Regions from separate parts of the Homo sapiens genome. Here all the other regions are linked to region 2. Evidence: promoter capture Hi-C in 16 types of primary human blood cells and fetal thymus (Javierre and others, 2016). All regions are on one chromosome and are shown on one strand. The core of a region is centred on a gene start or on the middle of the fragment in contact, and the rest is flanking DNA. Distances in the headings are between cores, read along the strand shown.

Evidence for each region. The method cuts DNA at HindIII sites, captures the fragments that hold promoters and counts their contacts. A CHiCAGO score of 5 or more calls a contact.
Region 1: a contact is called between the fragment with the promoter of ARHGAP10 here and the fragment with the promoter of ZNF827 in region 2, in 1 of 17 cell types (fetal thymus). The highest score is 7.7, in fetal thymus.
Region 3: a fragment that was not itself captured here is called in contact with the fragment with the promoter of ZNF827 in region 2 in 1 of 17 cell types (fetal thymus); the score reaches 5.6 in fetal thymus.
Region 4: the fragment with the promoter of TTC29 here is called in contact with the fragment with the promoter of ZNF827 in region 2 in 2 of 17 cell types (fetal thymus and M2 macrophages); the score reaches 8.8 in fetal thymus.

Annotation. Positions count from the first base shown.
Region 1 is chr4:147,729,506-147,734,251 of GRCh38, reverse strand. It overlaps ARHGAP10 (Rho GTPase activating protein 10), which reads right to left and starts at 2,164. Exons shown (of 23, transcript NM_024605.4): 1 at 1,797-2,164. The coding sequence starts at 1,950. RefSeq lists enhancers at 120-249, 1,378-1,447, 768-1,660, 1,661-2,553 and silencers at 1,558-1,637, 1,948-2,467. The HindIII fragment of the contact is 2,455 bases long and covers 1,311-3,765 here.
Region 2 is chr4:145,935,951-145,940,304 of GRCh38, reverse strand. It overlaps ZNF827 (zinc finger protein 827), which reads left to right and starts at 1,482. Exons shown (of 15, transcript NM_001306215.2): 1 at 1,482-1,940. The coding sequence starts at 1,898. RefSeq lists an enhancer at 2,106-2,165 and silencers at 2,540-2,609, 2,730-3,139, 3,240-3,819. The HindIII fragment of the contact is 1,765 bases long and covers 1-1,740 here.
Region 3 is chr4:144,656,029-144,660,798 of GRCh38, reverse strand. It overlaps HHIP (hedgehog interacting protein), which reads right to left. Exons shown (of 13, transcript NM_022475.3): 3 at 1,853-2,009; 4 at 961-1,162. Among named protein-coding and RNA genes, the nearest start is that of HHIP, 12 kb to the right of the region's middle. The HindIII fragment of the contact is 2,432 bases long and covers 1,192-3,623 here.
Region 4 is chr4:146,943,737-146,948,188 of GRCh38, reverse strand. TTC29 (tetratricopeptide repeat domain 29) reads left to right here and starts at 2,325. Exons shown (of 13, transcript NM_031956.4): 1 at 2,325-2,480; 2 at 3,112-3,158. It overlaps TTC29-AS1 (TTC29 antisense RNA 1), which reads right to left. Exons shown (of 7, transcript NR_188447.1): 3 at 2,635-2,758. RefSeq lists a silencer at 2,193-2,332. The HindIII fragment of the contact is 10,093 bases long and covers 1-2,607 here.

The DNA.
Region 1 (4,746 bases), core at 915-3,414, 1.8 Mb before region 2:
TCACAGAAATAGCTTTCTACCAGTGGCCAAACTGGCTTTGCCCTCTGCCTCTCTCCACACCTCTCTAGCTCCAGAGGGAACTACTACAACCAATGAGAGAGAAGGTACATTCTCCCGGCCACTGACTCTGGTTAACATCAAGTTACAGAAAGAGTCCTCAGTCCTCATTCTCTCGTGTTCACTCTGCACCCCCGCTCCCAACTCCTCCTTTCTATGCTCACTCCTCCATATGTATAGGCGCCCCCCTACTTCCCACCCAACACACATACCAGATGCCAAGGGCCTGGAGAGCCCTCAACCAAATAAGCCCACTTGTCACATGTCCCAGAGTCCCATTTCTGATTCAAGCAGCAGAGACTTAAAAACAAAACAAAAAAACCCTAAGTGAGTCCCAGTCCTGATTTTGCAACACCAAAGAGGTCAGAGAACCAAAAGGAACCTTGGAGATCATCCAGAGAAGTTGAGTGACTTGCCTCCAAAATTACAGGGATGGCTCACTAAATTCTTCCCACAGAAATGTACTTCAACTTATTCATTAAATGCATATTTACTGTACCAGGCACCATGCTGGGTGCCCGAGACAGTATAATCAATATGTTTTAATCGCCCTTACTGAAAAATGGGGCGGGGCGCGGTCGGGAGAACAGTGAGATGGGGGATTTTCCCCAGAGGTGGTATCTACAAACAAATGTACAAGGGACGAATACCTAAGGCTGAGAATTACTGAACTGAGAATCTAGGTGAGTGATGAAGGCCCTAAGAACCCAGCCCCTCAAGGCTGGATACTGCCCAAGTCCCTGTCTGCTGTATGGACAGGTCTTTTAAAGGGGGAAAGGGGACATTCACCGCCATCCTCCGAAGGGGTTATGGATCCAAGGGATGGTCAGGCTGCCCAGCTCCTCACTGGGGCTAATTCCGCCCCATTTTCCAGTAGCATCACTAACTCAGTATTTCTGCATGAATTTTGGCCCCTTCTCTCCTAGAAAGACTCTCCTCAACTACACTAAAATACAGTTATCTCTCCTGTATCTCGTGTCTTCTTCCGAGTTTAAGAGACAGAAGTTCAGGGGAGGAAGGCACCAAGCCTAACCGGGGTGGAATTCCCTATTTGCAAGCAGTGCCCGCCTAGGCTAGAGGGCAGGCTGTCCGCTCACCCTTCCAAACCCCAATCTTTGAACCCTCCTCAGCACGGCAGGGGAGGAATGTGCGGAAGCAGCATAAAGCCAGGTGGACTTTCTGGTTTGGCACGTGAAGGACCTGGAACAGGACTGTCGGGGAAGATCAGACAATGAGAGGGAAAAGGTGAAGCTTAAGGGGACTCTGGAAAACTCAACACTCCCGCAGGGTTTCAAAGAATCCCCAAGAAATTTCTTTTGAGAAGTCACAAAACAAAACTAGGCAAACAGATGCCTCGGTTTTGTAAGAGATTGTGAGTAGCTTTAGGCAGCAATGAAACCTGACTCCGGGCCAGGAGTGCCTAGGGTCGGTCCAGCGGAGCGCGCATTCAGCGAGGGGTGTTCGGCCGGGGCCAGGCGGGGCCCAGGCGGGGCCCGCTGGCAGCTGGTTCCCGCCGCCGCAGAGCCGCAGGGGCGGGAATGGGGACTCGCCGCGCTGCCTCGAGGAGGAATGATTCCAGGGACCCCCCGGGGTTCCGAGAGAGCTGGGCTGGTCCGGAATGAATTCCCCGTTCCTCTGGCTGCTGGCCCCGGACACAAGACCCTCCGTCTCCTGCCGAGAGAGGCTCCCCCAGCCGCCTCGCCACGCCGCAGCCCGTCCGCGCCCGCGTCCCCGCTTACTTTTCGTCGCAGCGATGAGGTTCTTCCCGTCCTTAATGAGCTCTTTGATGAACTTGTTGGTCCTCTCGAGTTCCGCTTCGTGAGCGCGGATCCTCTCCCGGAACCACGGGCTGTCGAGGTAGCAGTCGCTGAACTCCAGGGGCTGCAGCCCCATGACGGCAGCGGTCGCTGCGCGGTGCGCACGGCCGCGCGCTCCTGCCCGAGCCGAGCTCCGAGGCCGCTGCCAGGTGCGGCGCCGCGCGTTCAGGGAGCACAGAGGAGCTAGCAGGCCCGGGCGCGCGGCGAGCGCGGCACGGACATGTCCCGTAGAGCCGAGTCCTGCGGCGCGGAGGAGCTGCCACCGAGACCAGCGCTAGCTGCGGCGCCCCAATCCCGGCAGCCCCCGCCGAGCTCTGAGCGCCCGCGGCCCCGCCCCGCCCGGCCCCCGCGCGGCAGACACTCCCCGAGGCGCCACCCGGCCGGGCCCGCGCTCCCGCTCGTCCCCTTCTCTTTCCTCCGCCTTCCTTCTTCCTCCCTTCCCTTCCCTGGACGCCTCTTCCTTCTCTTCCCCACGCGCAGCTGCCCCTCCTCTTCCTTCCGAGGCGTCCTGGGGCTAGAATTTCGCCCCGCGGCTCCCCTCCACCCTGGGCGCTCTCCCCTCCCCTTTGCTTGGGCTCCCGGGGCCGGGGTGACTCACAGTCGGCTCCCCGCTGCACGGAACCCGACCGGGACCGAGAAGGAGCGTCTTAATTGCAGTCGTTAGTCCCCGCAGGCGGGCGACATAACTCTGAAGTGGCTGCCTTGCAGGAGATGATTAACTCATTTATCTCATTTATCCTGGGACGCCCCCAACCCCGAGCTGGGAACGAACTCGCACAGGGGGCTCTTTTCCTTATCCCGGTTCCTTTCCCAGTTTAAAGTGAGATGCGTGGTAAATCTCCGCTTGAGATCGAAGCCTTACAATGGCAAGAGCGTTTTCTTGGTGGCCCAGCAGCTCCTATTACACTTCTCTGCGTATCCGCACTAAATAACTTAGTTGAAGAGAGAGGGCTGGCTAAACCACAGAAAAGTTGTTTCTGTTGTGTTCAGCACATTAAATTTGCTGGGGTAGGTGAAGACGATCTTTATTATTCTAAAAATAACTACCGGAAAACATGCCAGGTAACGTGTGGTTTTCACCGCGTGGGGGTGACGATCAATGAGAATTTATGTCAGTGCCCTCAAAAAGCCTATTTTGTGTGTTATGAAACAACTCCAGTGTGTCCCAAAAAAAGTTAGGCATTTTAAAGTATTAAAATGTATACCTTAGGCCGGACGTGGTGGCTCACGCCTGTAATCCCAACACTTTGGGAGACGGAGGCGGGTAGATCACCTGAGGTCAGGAGTTGGAGACCAGCTGGCTAACATGGTGAAACCCCGTCTCTACTTAAAATACAAAAAGTACCCGGGTGCGGTGGCACGTGCCTGTAGTCCCAGCTGAGGCAGGAGAATCGCTTGAACCCAGGAGGCGGAGGTTGCAGTGAGTCGTGATGGTGCCACTGCACTCCAGCCTGGGCGACAGAGCGAGACAATGTCTCAAAAAAAAAAAAAAGTATTTCTTAAAAAAAAACACTAATAGTTCATTAGAGTAACGTTTCATAATCGCAATTTATTAAGCAATTATTATGTGCCGGGCACCCACTAGGAACTCCATACATCTACAAACTCGCGATATAGACTTACATGATATGATGGTAATATTAACGAGAAACTTCAAAGTAATTCCTCAAGACGTTCAGACTCTCAGCTGGGTAATTAAGAATCTGTTTGGACAGCATGTTGTAGGAGGGTAACCCTCCCGAACAAGTTAAATAAGCCTCCTACTCAATAAGCCCTTTTGTTACAAAACAGCACCAGGAGTGCCTAACCCACAGATAAACATTATTACTCTAATGTCCATCCTCCAGAGAGTTCAAAGTGTTTTACAAATAACTTTTAGGCGGTGAAAGCTTCAGTTCCTACTAAAACCAGCAGGAGACTGGAGTCTACAGAAAAGAGAATAAAAGAGGCAAATAAAGGGGAAGAAAGACAAGAAGAGAGGGGGTGTAAACAAAAATGAGGGCCTAGCGAAACAGCCAAGCACTGACCACACTCAATCCTCAGAGCAGAAACCCAAACCTTTTCTCATAGAGGGGCTGCTGAGACTTCTTCAATATTGAACATGGAGGTTACCGTGTGACCCAGCAAGTCCACGCTTAGATATATACCCAAAAGAAATGAAAATATATGTCCACGCAAATATTTACACACAAATATTCATAGCAGCATTATTCGTAATAGCCAAAAAGTAGAATCAACCAAAATGTCCTTTGTCAGCTGTGTAATGGATGCACAAAATGTTTGTCCATAAAATGAAATATTAATCTACAATAAAAAGGAATGAAGTACTGACACGTGCTACGGCACAATAACGGTGAAAACGTTATACTAAGTAAAAGAACCTAGCTGCAAAAGGCCAATACTATCTACTTATATTAAATGTCCAAAACAGGTAAATCTATAGAGGCAGAAAGATTAGTGGTTGCTAGAGACTGGGGGATAGAGTGGAGGGTATATGTAGTCAGGAGTTTATTTTCAGGGTGATGAAAATTATTAATATTTTTATTTTTCATAGAGATAGGGTCTCACTATGTTGCCCAGGCTTTTCTCAAACTCCTTAGTTCAAATGATGCTCCCACCTTGGTCTCCCAAATTGCTGGAGTTATGGGAGTGAGCCGCCGAGCCTGGCCGAAAACAATTTAAATTTACATTTTGGTAATGGTTGCACAATTCTGAATATACTCAAAATCACTTAATTGTATGTGATAAATGGGTGGATTTCTTTTGGTCTGTGAAATATATCTCAATAAAAAATTTTTTTTAAGATGAACTACTCTAGAACTGCTTCTCCTTTACCACATTAGACTTCAAGCCGTAAAAACTCTGGTTTATT
Region 2 (4,354 bases), core at 233-2,732:
AGCCTTATTATTATTTTTAATAAGGCAAGTCAGAATTTAACCCCCATGGCTCTCTTTAACACCACTGAAGTTGTAAGAATTAACTCAACCTCAAAGAGGCATGAGTTATCCATGTAGGCTTATAGAGTGTCATTTTAATGTTCTATGTCTTTACTGTGCCTCCACTTTCTTTGATGAAAAGGTCTATTTAAAAATTGGTAGGAAAATATTTAACATAATAAGATGATGAGTCAGAGTTTTAAAAAAGCTAAAAAGGGAAGATGTAGTTAAATAATGCACCTTTTTATTTTCTAGCTACATGACTCATGACATATAATGTATTCTGCTAAGTTCAAAGTTTCCTCTTACAAAGAGAGTTTTATGAAACAACTCTTCTTCAGACCATTTTTATTTCAATTATAGTAGCAGGTTTTGGAGTTTAAATCATTAACAACCTCTGAGTGAACTTTTATCCAAATGACTGCAAGTCACAAAGAGAACAGTCCTCTTTCACCAAGTACCTTTTGTGCTCTAGTGAGACCCGTCCTTTTCTATTTTTCTCCTTTATGTCTCTCTTTGAAGAAAGATGTGTGATTTGTAAGGTAATGAAAGTATGTATCAGTTAATGAAAACTGCTATATTGGGCTCATAATGCACACTGGAATTGCTTCAGGGTAAACTTCATATACCTGCAGTATATAGCAGGGGAAAAAGTGAATTTCCGAAGTAAAGATTGCTGTGTGCACTCTAGGAGTATCACGTAGCAGTTAAAGCAACCATCAGGGGTGACCTAATCTTATTTTCCTCTCTTTGTCAAGTAGCTGTAATGTTCATTTAGGAGCATTTTTCAGTTTTAACTCCAGTGGACACTCCAAAACTGGGCACTTATTCTGTCAACTGTCAACCAAGTTATTGATTTCACCATATGTTGTCTTCATTTTTTTTAAATTAGTTTTTTTGGAATGTTTTTGAAGAGTGTGTGGGAGACGATAACCTCCAGATTTAAGGTGATGGGGTAGGGACAAAAGCCTGCAGAATTTCATACAGAACAAAATGTAGCTTAATAAACAAAAGAAAGTGAAGAGAGAAATTTATTTCCTTTTTAAAAGTCAGTAAAATAATGAACTAATCGTTGTTTAAAGAGTGAGAAAAACTTTTTCCCCCTAGATTTGGTGACTAGCGGGATAAATTTGAAGAACTCCATCCCACCCCCGCACGCGCGCCCCCCATTCTTTCCAGACAGAGCGGTTGTAAATCCGAGGCTGAGTCCGCCCTGGGAGCCTTGGGGCACTTTCCTCTTTGCTCTGTGTGTGTGTGTGCGTGCGTGTGTGTGTGTGTAGCTCTCGCTCTTTCCCTCAGTCTGTGCCTCTTGTGTGTGTGTGTGTGTGACAGAGAGAGAGCGAGAGAGAGAGCGCGAGAGGAGAGAGAGCGAGAAAGAGAGAGAGAGAGAGCAAGAGAGCGAGCTGTGAGCTGTGCTGCCGCCGCCGCTGCCCTTTGATCCCGACATTAGTGTTAGGGGCTCGGAGACACAGAGCGCGGCCATAGACACCGCCGCACCGGCACTCATTTATTTATACCTCCCATCACACACGCGAGCATAGGACACACACACACTCACACCTATTAGATCCGTTTCCATTGAAGAATATTACGCTCGGGGACAAGCCAGGTGCACGACCAAAAATTTAAAAAAAAAAAAAAAAGGAAAAAAGAAAGGAAAGAAAAGAAGAAAACCCCTCTTCTGGCTCCAGGAAACAAGCTTCAACCCATTGCACACACCGGAGAAGGGGTTTCCCCCTGCCCGCCCGCCCGCCCCCCAACTACCTCCCCGCTCCTGCCAGTGTCTGCCTCTCTGCCCCCACGGGGGTTTATTTGATCTCACATTAACCAAGGAGGAGAATGTGAGAAAAGGGGGAAAATGCCCAGGAGGAAGCAGGAGCAGCCCAAGCGCCTTCCCTCACGTAAGTCATCCCTTCTCCACCTCCTCTCGTGCCATTTTCTCGCCCTCCCTCTCCTCTTTCCCCTCCGCAGCCTCCTCCGTTGTTTTCTGCATTAGTTTAGGGTTACAGAGGTGAAACTGACAAAGACACAGCCCGGGTTACTCCTCGTTTAGGTCTATGCTGAGGCAGCCATGTTGGTGATGATCAGCCCCGTGCCCTTTCTATTCTCTCTCTCTTTTTCTTTCTTTCTCTCACCCCCCCCCTTTTTTTCCTTGAGATCGGGCTTTTTTTTCCCTTTCCCTCCCCTTCCCCCTCCTCACTCTGGGTTGCTGGGGGGAGGGGGCAAGAGAAGGGAGGAGGGGAGTAGTGTGGATGCCGGGGGTTTTATCGGGGGTTTGGTGGGGGGAGGTGGGAGAGGTTGGAATCTTAAAAAAAAAAAAATTCCTTGTGGATTCCGGCGCCTGAGGGTGCGGGGGTCGGGGCGCGCGGAGGGCTGGGGGCCGTGACATGGCGTTTGGGGGTGTCGGGGAGAGGGCGCGCAGCAGCCGCCGGGTACAGGATCCAGGGAGAGGTCCGTCCCTGGCTAAAGGTTGCGCCGGGGTTGGTCGGCCCCCGAGCCGCCGGCGGCAGCGGCGGCGGCGGCTGGAGCAGGAGGAGGCGGAGGTGGAGGAGGCGGCGGCGGAGGAGGGGAGTCGGGGGCGGGCGAGGCGGGAGCGGCTGGGGAGGGTGTAGGGGCACCGCACACAAACACACGGGTACACACGCGCCGCCGGGCGGCTGCTCCCGCGGCGCCGAGGCGAGGGGGCGCGCCGGGGCGCGGGGCGGCCGGGCGGGGGGCGAGGCCGGGCAGCGGCGGGCGGATGTGGGGTGCGGGAGCTGCGCCGAGGCGAAGGCAGGAGGCAGGGCGGCTCGCGGCGCGCGAGGTCCCTGCAGAGCGGAGGAGAGGGAGGAGCAGGGCTCCTGGCCGCAATAAAATGCGGGGTCAGTCGGAGCAGACGGAGCCGGGCGAGACTCGGGCTCTCAGACCCCCTCCTTGGCGAGCCTGAGCAGAGTCCAGGACTAAAGTGCATCACAGCCCTCCCCGGCGGCAGCCACACACGCCAACTGGAGACACACACCCGCCGGCACGGCCCGGTCCCCTTCCCCTCCTCCACCCGCGCCCCCGGTCCCTCTCCGCCCTCCCTCCGGCTTTTCTTTGCGCGACTCTTAACTTTTCCCCCACTCCCTCTCCAGCTCCCCCCAACCCCCCAGTCTTTCTCCGCTTTGAGTGTTTCGAGATGCTGCTAAAGCTAAAAGTGAAGGAGAAAGAAGCAACTAAAAATATCCCCCGGGGCCGCCCGGCTCCTTGAATGCAGGGAAGAGGGGGCAGGGGAGAAGGCGTGGGGCGGGGTGACGGGGAGGAGGGGACGCGGGAGGCGCCGGAGGGAGGGGTCGGGGGAGACGGAGGGTCAATTTCTCTTCTCTCCCCCCACACTACTCCCCTCTCCCGGCGGTTTGGCGCTGCTCGGAGCCCGATCCTGCAAAACCCGGGCTGGGGGCGGGAGTGGAGCCGGAGCGCCCGCCCGCCCGGGTGTCAGGCCGACGTGGTCGGTCACCTGAAGTTCACGGAGGGTGGGGGAAGGGTTAAGGTTATGGTGTCTCGGGCTCGGGCTGTGTGTGAGCTTGTGCTTTTCCGCTGCAGACAGGCAGGGCGATCGATCTCCCCCTCGCGAAATAACCGCGGCGGTGCCTGCCCAGGGGACCGGGAGGGGGGCGCGGGCTGCTCGGGCCAGGCGCCCCCGCGCCTCCGTGTCACCCGGGCCGCAGCCGAAGTGGCGAGCAAGGGCACTTGCAAGCAGTCCGCTCCGCAAACATTCCTCTTTCTTTCCCCTTCCCGGTACGCAGGAGTCGACGCAAAGGGCTTGGGTTGTGCTTTTTTCCCCTTCCTTTAAAAAAAAAAAATGCCCCTGTGCAGTCCTTTCTTCGCCTGCCCGCTAGAGGTTCTGAGGATAATATCACATATGTAATATATATGCACATAAAATCACTCGCAGGCGGCTGCGTGTGTAGGGAAATTTTGTGCGAGGAAGGAGAAGGCGGTGGAGTCGGGGAGGGCGAGTTGGGAGGCTCCGCGCTGCGATTCACAGAAAACTCGCAGCAGTTGGTGGAAGAGTGTGCGTGCACATGGCCGGACTGCCCCGCTGCCGGGCTCTTGTCGGGGGCGTGTGGGGGGAGGGAGAGGAGGCAGGAATCCTGAGGGGGTCAGGGGAGGTCTGCCGTGCTTGGACAAAATGGGCTTCAGTGTTCTCTGCGAACTTGCCCTTAGATGGCAACTTTGGGAGCTGATGAGCTTGTGTGCGAAAACAGGGCGGTGAGGTTATTTGGTCATTTTCCCTTTCTTCTCTTCTCCCCCTGCTTTAAAAAAAAAAATGTTGGCGGGGTTAGAGGGAGGGTGG
Region 3 (4,770 bases), core at 1,158-3,657, 1.3 Mb after region 2:
TTATTTACAATGGTAAAAAATAAAGACTGGAGTCATCTTAACTCTCACACGATAAGAAAATGAAATAGATAGCAGGAATATATCTATATTTTTCCTGACTTGTTTCTTCTGATTTGGGTCTTCTTACCACTGGAGTACAGCACAACAAAGCAAGAAAGAGTTCATTTCTATGTGAGTAGAAGACTATAAATCCTCCTTCAGGTTTTTTTTTTTCAGTTAAGAAATGAAAAGGATAACCAGTTCTTCCCAAATCATATTGTTACTTTGTTTCATTCTAAAATAGGCATGAGCTATTAAATGTGTCTTAATTTTAGAACGTCATAATTTGCTTTATGGTTTAGTACTGCTAATGTTATACTGTGTCACTCTTGTGAAACAAACTTGACAATAATTTTGTTTACATACCTAGGTTATTTAAAATGAGAATTCAAATTAGAGAAGTGAAAAAGAGGGCAATATATGTTTTATAGGTGGCTAATTATAGAAATATTTGACTTACCTGTAAAAACATTGTACAAGGAAGTTGTAGTATAAGTAGTATTTTTTATGAGACAGACTCAAAAACAGAGATGGTGAAAGAATGATTTGCAATTGCCAAAATAACCAAAAGACCTCTTTGTTTCTACTAGCAAATGCTGATGTACAGTCCTGTGTTATGCCCATTAAACAATATTTAAACAATACTTTATAAAGCCAAAGATTCCTTTAAATGTGTCAATTACATGGGGAAAGCATGTCAAATATCAATTCGATTGCAGCGCACAATAGTCAACAAATAACAGAAATTTAATGTCACTGTCCTAATTCAGGTGCCATAATTATTGTTTCTTATGTTGCCCCCTTATTTTCTCCTGCAAGATTCTTTCTTTTATTACAAAGAAATACCTTCAGTGAGGAAGGTAACACTAAAATAAAATTAACGTAGCCAGCACAAAAATAAATAAAATTTAAAAAGCCAACCTTTATTCCACTTTGAACAAGTTTGTGAATGTCCAAATAAGGCTCCTTGAAAATTTCTCCTTCAGGGGTAAGTATCTTCACATAACCTTCTTTTTCCAGAATGAAGAGACGTTGCGAGCCATCCCCACTATGCAGGGCACCAACGGGCTGCCGCAGCCCACTCACAACCTCCTGAATACAGAAGCAGTTGTGTTTGTGCTTTCTAAACAAATTAAAGAAAACCGGTAAGCTTTTCTTGAGATGAAGGAGATAAGGGATGCACTTGGCATCCTTTTCAAACTCTATTTCCTCTAGGAATCATGGTTTTGAGAACCATGAAGTGCTTGCTAACCCAAGGGTCACAATATAATTCTTTTAAGTGGTTCTTTTAAATTCTTTCAATGGCAAAAAACAAAACAGCCTTCTTTCAGAAAGTAAAATAAGAGAATCAAAACATGTATATATTTTCAAATGTCATAATCTCATTTTCTCATATTTCAGCGACTATAATTAAAATTAGTTTTACTCACAATAAATAAACCTTATGGAAGGCATGTAGAGAGAAAGTTCTAAGATCTATTTAGAAAAACCTGATTTGCTAATGGTAATTGTGCTGAACATTTTCACAGTGCCATAGACTAACAACAATCATAAAATTCAGGCTTAAAACTATACCCATAAAATTGACATGAGTCATAGAGAAGCCAAGCTCATAATATACGATTAGTAGTCTAAGTATTAAAAGCATTTAAGCTAGAATTTTAGAGAAACAAACTACCACAGAGAAAAAACTAAAGCATCTGGAGGATATAGCTGCTGAACATAAGCACAGACAGTTGATTCACTGTCAAAACCACAAGATTTGTCAGTTGGGTTTTTTTAAAAAGATTAAAGAGCATTTATCTTTATGAACCTGCTGATCTCTTCCACTTTGTCATATTCTTCCATCTGGTCCAAGTAGTTAGATGCTGGTCCTCTGACTTGTTTTCTTGGAAAATCTGGAAAGCACAACCCACCATCTTTTCTTGCATAGTAAAAGCAAAACTCATCCGCAGTTGTTTGAAGGAAACCTTTAAAAAATATAAAAAGACTCATTAGAAGCACCTAATGTCATAGTAAAACCACCTTATTTGAAAGATATAAGATGAGGAAAAGAATTTTGGGAAACTAGGTGGATATTTTAGGAAGAACCTAGACTGAAATAAAAACAGTCCTGTAATCCCACCACTTTGTGAGGCTGAGGTGGGTGGATCACCTGAGGTCAGGAGTTTGAGACCAACCTGGTCAACATGGCGAAACCCCGTCTCTACTAAAAATATAAAAATTAGCAGGGCATGGTGGCATGCGCCTATAATCCTAGCTATTCGGGAGGCTGAGGCAGGAGAATCACTTGAACCGGGAGGTGGAGGTTGGAGCGAACCAAGAACACACCACTGCACTCTAGCCTGAGCCACAGAGCGAGACACCTTCTGAAAAAATAAATAAATAAATAAATAAATAAATAAATACTAAATAAAAAGAATGAAAAATATCGGGGGTTGGGATTCCCATTTGTGTTTTAAACTAAATTTAAAAATTGTGGTAAAAGTGAAATAATATTGTGTTGAGTATTAAAAGGCTCCCATGAAGTACAAATAAGACAAACTCAGCATTTATCTTGCTATTGCATTGATGTCTTTTCAAGATTCTCTAGTTACTGTATGTTGTACCTGTGAGCATATCTCATCAGTATTTAGCATTTTTTCCTACAATACTAAATAACTTCCTCAGATGAACAAACAAGAATCAAGAAGGAGACAGGCCATCAGGTGCCAGTTTTGGTCATTTTACAAGTCTTAGTGTATTGCCACTTACATAAGATTAAATAATAAATCTAATGAATAACACAAGGTCATTATATGCTATAATAAACAACTGACTCACTGTGTAATGATCAAGCAATGAATTGGTGCTTATAACAGAGCCTCCATTTTCAAATATATAAGTGCCTTTTTCCTGCACCTCACTTATAGGAGATAATGATTAATGTGTAATAGAAAAATTATATTTAAAATATTCCTTCAATCGTCTCAAACAGAAAAGCTGACATATCAACAAGCCAAAACAAAAACACAACGGAGTTACTTAATAGGATCTAAAAGTAAGATGTGTTTTCTTTTCTTACACATTAAATATTTTATCATATAAAGACAGCTATCTTTGAATATGAAAGGAAATAACTTTATGGCAAAAAAGTTTTGATATTACTTTTACAATTTGAGTTAATAAGGTATTACCTTTCTGGGACATATTAGCAAGACTCACTTCCACATTCTAATGATTTCTGCTCTCAAAATATGACGGTATTACCAGAGTCAGTCTTATATATGGTCCTAAATTGCTGCTTCTGGTCTTATACTTTATATTATATATCTAAAGTTTTTATTTTTATATAACAAATTATATTTTCACACCTCATCAATTTTGTGATAAACATACTGAGTAGCTCAGTAGAAATTTAGAAGTTGTATAACAAATTCAGATTTAGCAAGGATTTCTAAGAACAAGAATTTGGGATCAGCCAAGTGAGACTCATCAATGGCGCATAAAAGACACTACAAGTTTACTTTCTGTGTGCTTGACCTAGGATCCCTCAAACCTAAAACTTATCTTAGAATGTGAAGGTCCCAAATGGTTGTAAAGCTTGAAGTACATTTTGACCTAACTTTTGAGTGAAATGTCTCACCCTGAACTTTCTGAGAGAGACTCTTCCCTGCCAATTTCTGACTAGGCTATTGGAAAGGATCTTGTCTTGGCAACCAGGCAAGTAAGAGCAGATGTCCTTGGGAGTGTGTGTGTATGTGTGTGTACATGCATGCGGTGGGGGGCACAGAGAAAAAGAGGCAAGCAGCTGGGAAGTGCTCCACGGGAGGGGCAAGGCAATTGGAAAGTTATTTTTCTTTGAAAAAAAATTCAAGGATTAGAAGCACTTTTCCCTCCCTTCTTAAATGGGTAAGCATTCACATGAAAACTGCCTAATAGTGTTAAACAAGTCTCTTAGAGGTAAAAAGAAAAAAAAAACTAAATTGTTAAATCAAACTCTTTGCACAGTTTTGGGCTAGATCTTGTTTTGGAAATATTTACCATCAGGCAACAAAATCTCCATGCCTATATTATGCATGCAGGAAGACTGTCATACTATGGTCATATTTATAACTGGATATGTGAGTGAGAAATATAGTTTTAAGGTGATGTTTGCCAGAAGGGTTACAGAAAAATTTCAAAATGCAATTCAAAAGAAATTTCAAGCTTGCTTAAAAAAAATGTGTGTTTCAGCATTACTGTCTACTAACCAATACCATCTTAAGGTGAAATTAATAAACAATGCTGGTGGTCAATTCCAATTTAAAGGGAATTAGTAACTGGGACAAATACGAGGAAATGAGAAGTCATTTTCAAACGGAATATCTAAAGATTAATGAATATATATTCATAAACTTGGTGGCTCCAGAGGTACAATGCCTGCTTAGCAAATTAAGAAAAAATACAGAATGTTAACAATAAATTTACTCCAAGCTTCTTATGTAATTTAGACAAACTGAATAACCTAAGTGTGAAAACCAACTCAGAAGATTTTTACTTAAATACATGGGCTTTTTTTCTTTACAATCATGTAATTTTATTTGAATTTAAGTATCTAACACTTTTATTAATACTTTACCTTAAATGACCCGATTCTGCAGTGAACAATGATGAATAGGGAGATATATTTTAACATTTATTGCCAGGGCTCCCTTTTGTTTGTCATTTTACTGAAAGTGCATGTTTAGCTCACTCGGGATCATCATAATA
Region 4 (4,452 bases), core at 1,076-3,575, 1.0 Mb before region 2:
CGGTAATCAATCAATAAATTTTGTTGTTTTAGGCCACACAGATTTGTGGTTGTCAATTTGTGGTTGTCACTGCATATGGATCTTACTACTACATCACATACAAAGGAAGGACAATAAAATTGCCACTAGACTTCTCATCCCAAACACTGGATACTAGAAAACAGTGAAATAATACCTTCTAAATTCAGAGGGAAATGATTGTTAATCTAGAATGTGCAATCCTACCAAATGATTGTAGGCAAAATAAGGATATTGTCAGACATGAAAGAACTTAAAATTTTATCTCATATGTTCTTTCCTAAGATGTTACTTGGGGATGTGTTTAGTAAAACAAGAATGATTCAGAATAATTTTACTGTAGAAATTGATGATTGAGATATCAAAAACACTTTGAGAACAATTATGGGGAGCAGTTAAGATGGATTGGCTTCCATTAGAAAATTGTCTCTTGCTTCTTTAGGGAGCTGACCTAACCTAAAATCATTTCTCCAGAGCAAGACTGGAAGAGGAAACTTTAGAGGTTGTTATGTCAGTAATAGCATTCAAACTATCAGTTGTGTCACCTGACCTTCCCCCTAGAATTCTAGGTGGAGAAGATTGAGGAAGCAATGAGAAGAATTACACAAGGAAGAATCTGTTTGAAAAACCACTCTATTCTGTCATTCTGTTAATTCAAAAAATATTTTTGAGCACATACTGTATACTAATCCTTGCATACGGTACAAGGGAATTCAGAAAACAATAAAACAAAGTCTCTGCTTTCAAGGTACTCACAATCTTTCAGGCAAGTTTGGTTCCCATAAGCCAAACACCATGCAAAGTTATACTGATAAAATCAAGGTAGGTCTAAGAGAAAGGAGGCGAGAGGAGGAGAAATTAATTCTGTGTAGTGAAAGGAAGAGGTATTCTGGAATCCTCAAAACTTTCAGAAAGGCCTGAGTTTCTAGATAAAGTTGCAGCTGAATCTGGCATCCTTTGGTTTTCATCAGTTTCCTTTTTTGCTTAAGCCCGTTTGTGTTTTCTGTCACTTGCAAACAAAGTTCTCTAACTGAAGGAATTCTATGCTAAACAGAAGGAGAAAGAGAGTTAGTCAAAGAACTTCTAGTGAAAAAACAGCAAGTAGGAGAAGTAAGTCCAAAGAAGCAGGAAGGAACTACCTAGAAAGCCAACTAAGACAGCCTCCTGTGAGAAAGGAAGGTGCATGGAATTCACAAACAGACTCTAAGTCAGAAAAAGCAGCAAGGACTGGAAAAGAATTCACACAGGTCACAGTGGAGTGTGTTAAGGTGATGCTGAAACTGGAAAATAAACTCATGAGAATAGAATGAGAGTCTTACTGGTGTGGGGGATGGGGTGGAGCCCAATTACAGATAGTCACAGTGCTCATTGAATGTATAATGTAAACATACTTGGAAATAATTTAGTAATTTGTTACAGCAAATGAGATGTTAGAATGAAAGTGTGGTTATGGTTGATATGCTTGTACTCTAAATAGAATCGATTTATGGTTAATAGAATGATTCGTGTGAGCAATATCGCTGGCTCGTTCTCCTACAATGTGTGTCAGTAGACAAGGAACAATAGCCTAACTTTCCAGCACTTCTGTATTTTAGAAGTAACAAGTGGCAAGCCTCACTCTCTTGCCCCATATATATATGAGGGAATGAGCAAGGAATTTCACTTCCTTGCACTCATGTCTGAGAGAAGAGATGGAATGATGGGCCGAGATTAATACGATGATATTTATTTAGTGTAAATATAAAACCCTGAGTTTCAGGTAAAAATGCAAAACAAATAAGGACAGATGCAGGGAGATTCTCTGAAAGAGACCTTGAGTATTTAGCGAACCACAATTCAAAATTGAATTGTCTGTGGGGACATGACAGGAAAAGGCATTTGTGGTGGGTTCTGACTGCAAGAGAGGCTGAGGAAGAGGAGAATGAATGACTTAGCTAGATGGATAAATTGGCTTCAGGTCACGGGGATCATGAATGCCTAGCTCAGCGTTTTCCCATCAATCCTGTGGACAAAAGAGAAATGAAGAAAAAGCATTGAGAATGCAAGGCCACGAAAGAAATGAAAGTGGCAAATTCGAGCCTCTTGGGTTACGTGAAAATGCCTAAAAGCGAGCTAACTTCTGAAAGCAGCCCTGCTTGAAAAGCCTCAGCTATCTGGGGGCCCCGCCCGGCCGTCAGTAAGCTCCACCCCTCGCCAGACTCCGCCCCCAAGCCCGAAGAGTCTGGGAGCTGCCCCAATCCCGAGGCCCGGTTTAGCCTAACTCCACCCCCGGCCGTCATGCCTCGCCTCTCTGTTTCCGTGGAGACGCTCTCGGCGTCCCCTGTCTCCGCTCCGGCGGAGCCAGGCTTCGGAATCACTGAGAGAGGAGGGGGCAGCGCCAACGCCCAGCACCTGCCGCCGGTGGGGGACTGACTTCGGCGGAACGGAAAACTGGAGTTGTTTCCCTGGGCCAGTGCACCGAGGTTCGTGACGGCAGGGGCGAGGTTGGGACCGGACTTCCTCAGCTCCTTGGAGAGGCAGGCTGTTCTTCAGGCAGCCCCTTCCCTGACCCCTACAGCCAGCCCTTCCTCCATCAGTCTTTCTCAAGCTTCCTCAGTCCAGGCCCTCGCCACTTACCTCAATAAACGAATTGAAAGAGAAGTAGGGAAAGGCGCCAGTTCCTCTTGCTCCCCAGTTCACCTGACCCTCTGAGGGGAGTGAAAAACTAGGCATAGGATAAGTCCTTTAGTCCTGTTGAGAACTAGGTGGGAACAGAAAGGGAACTGAGATGCTCTCCGTTTTTGGCAAAGATAACTGTATCTCGTAAATTTGAGAGAACAAATGGTTATCCCTAATGTCACATTTGTATTGAAATACATCAATACATATACATATTTCAGATGTTTTGGCATTTCACTGATTTAGTGATTAGTTTCTCTCATAGGATCTATACTTGGGGATTTTCTTTAAAAGTTCATCTAAACTTAGATGGTAGGAAGTATTTGTTGTAAGAGTGAATCTTATTCCATGACTTGGAGCGGGGAGAGGAGTTACACTACTGAATGATTTTAAATTTTTCTTCTTTGCTATTATTCTTTGCTTCCTGATTTTCAGGCTGAAGTCTATAAGCCTGGAGAGACCATCAGCAGTAATCTGCAAATGTAAGTCACGTGAAATATGGCTTGCCTTCAAACTCATTTCCTGCTTGATTTTGTGATTTAGCCATCAATGTCAGCTGGTAGGAAATGTGTGTTTTCTATTTATTTTACTAAACAACCTATCTACCCATGAGAGAGTGCCAGAAGTGTCCAAAAATTATGATACCGAGAATAAACATTATTACTGACTCTTTATAAACTTAATTATGTTTTTTTTTTTACTTAGGGAGCATAATTAGTGATATTTCTTCTGTAGTTTTCATTAAACTTTCATAGTAAAAGAGCTTGGATAATATGAAAAGTTTTAATTCTTATGAATGATTTTTAGTAAAATCCTACTTGTTTTGAACTCGTGATGATGTATAATAAACTTGCTTACTGTGGTTTACTGGCTTTATTTCTCTAATCTCAGTTTTTACTCCAAAGTGACTGAACCCTGCAGACACTGGTCAGCCTCAGACATAGTCATTCTCCAAGTAGCCTCCATTTACATAGTAGTAGGTCTCCCTCCTTTGTGTTTCCTGATAAAGGCATCTCTGGGGATAGAGGGCAGGAGAGTTACTCTTTGAAGAATTTTACTTGGGGGCCAAAAATTTAAGCTCACACCATGGGACACATTCAGCCTGACCTAGCACTCTCAAACCTTTCATCCTGTATTTCTCCATTTTCATTTGTCTTTGCATGTGGGGGCCAAACTTAGAGATTGTAGCTGTGATACAAGAGCCAACCAGCAGATCAAAGAGTACACCAAATTTCTTCTGAATACCAACAGTGGAATGGCTTCAGGCGGCCTTTTGATCTTTGTCTCAGCACCCGATGATGCCACACTGTAGCACTGCCCACTTGCTAGCACTGGCGGAGGTTCCTGTGGGTCCTCCTAACAGGCTGATTCAGCCTGAGCTCCTGGGGCTAAGCTCATTTGGTAGCAGCCAAAGAGGTATCTTTCATTCTTCTTCTTTCTTACTCACCTGAACCTGAGCAATTTCCCTTCCTGCAGCCACACCATCTTGTGTGTTTTCCCCTGAGATGTTGATCTGGGAGAACCCTAAGGAGGTGCCATAACTAGTGGTGATATGCTCCATTTATGCTACAGGCCTGGGTCAGTCACCTCATAGCACTAGTCCCATTCTTCATTGTTGAGTCTAAATTGGAGCTCACATGGGAACTGAGAATGCTGTCTGACCAACACCAGGAAAATGATGCAACTCATATTAACAAAGACCAAAAGGCTTTCTTTACAGGTATTTAATTTAATGGAAGTACTGCAAACCCTGCTTGAACTTGTAAGGCATAAAAG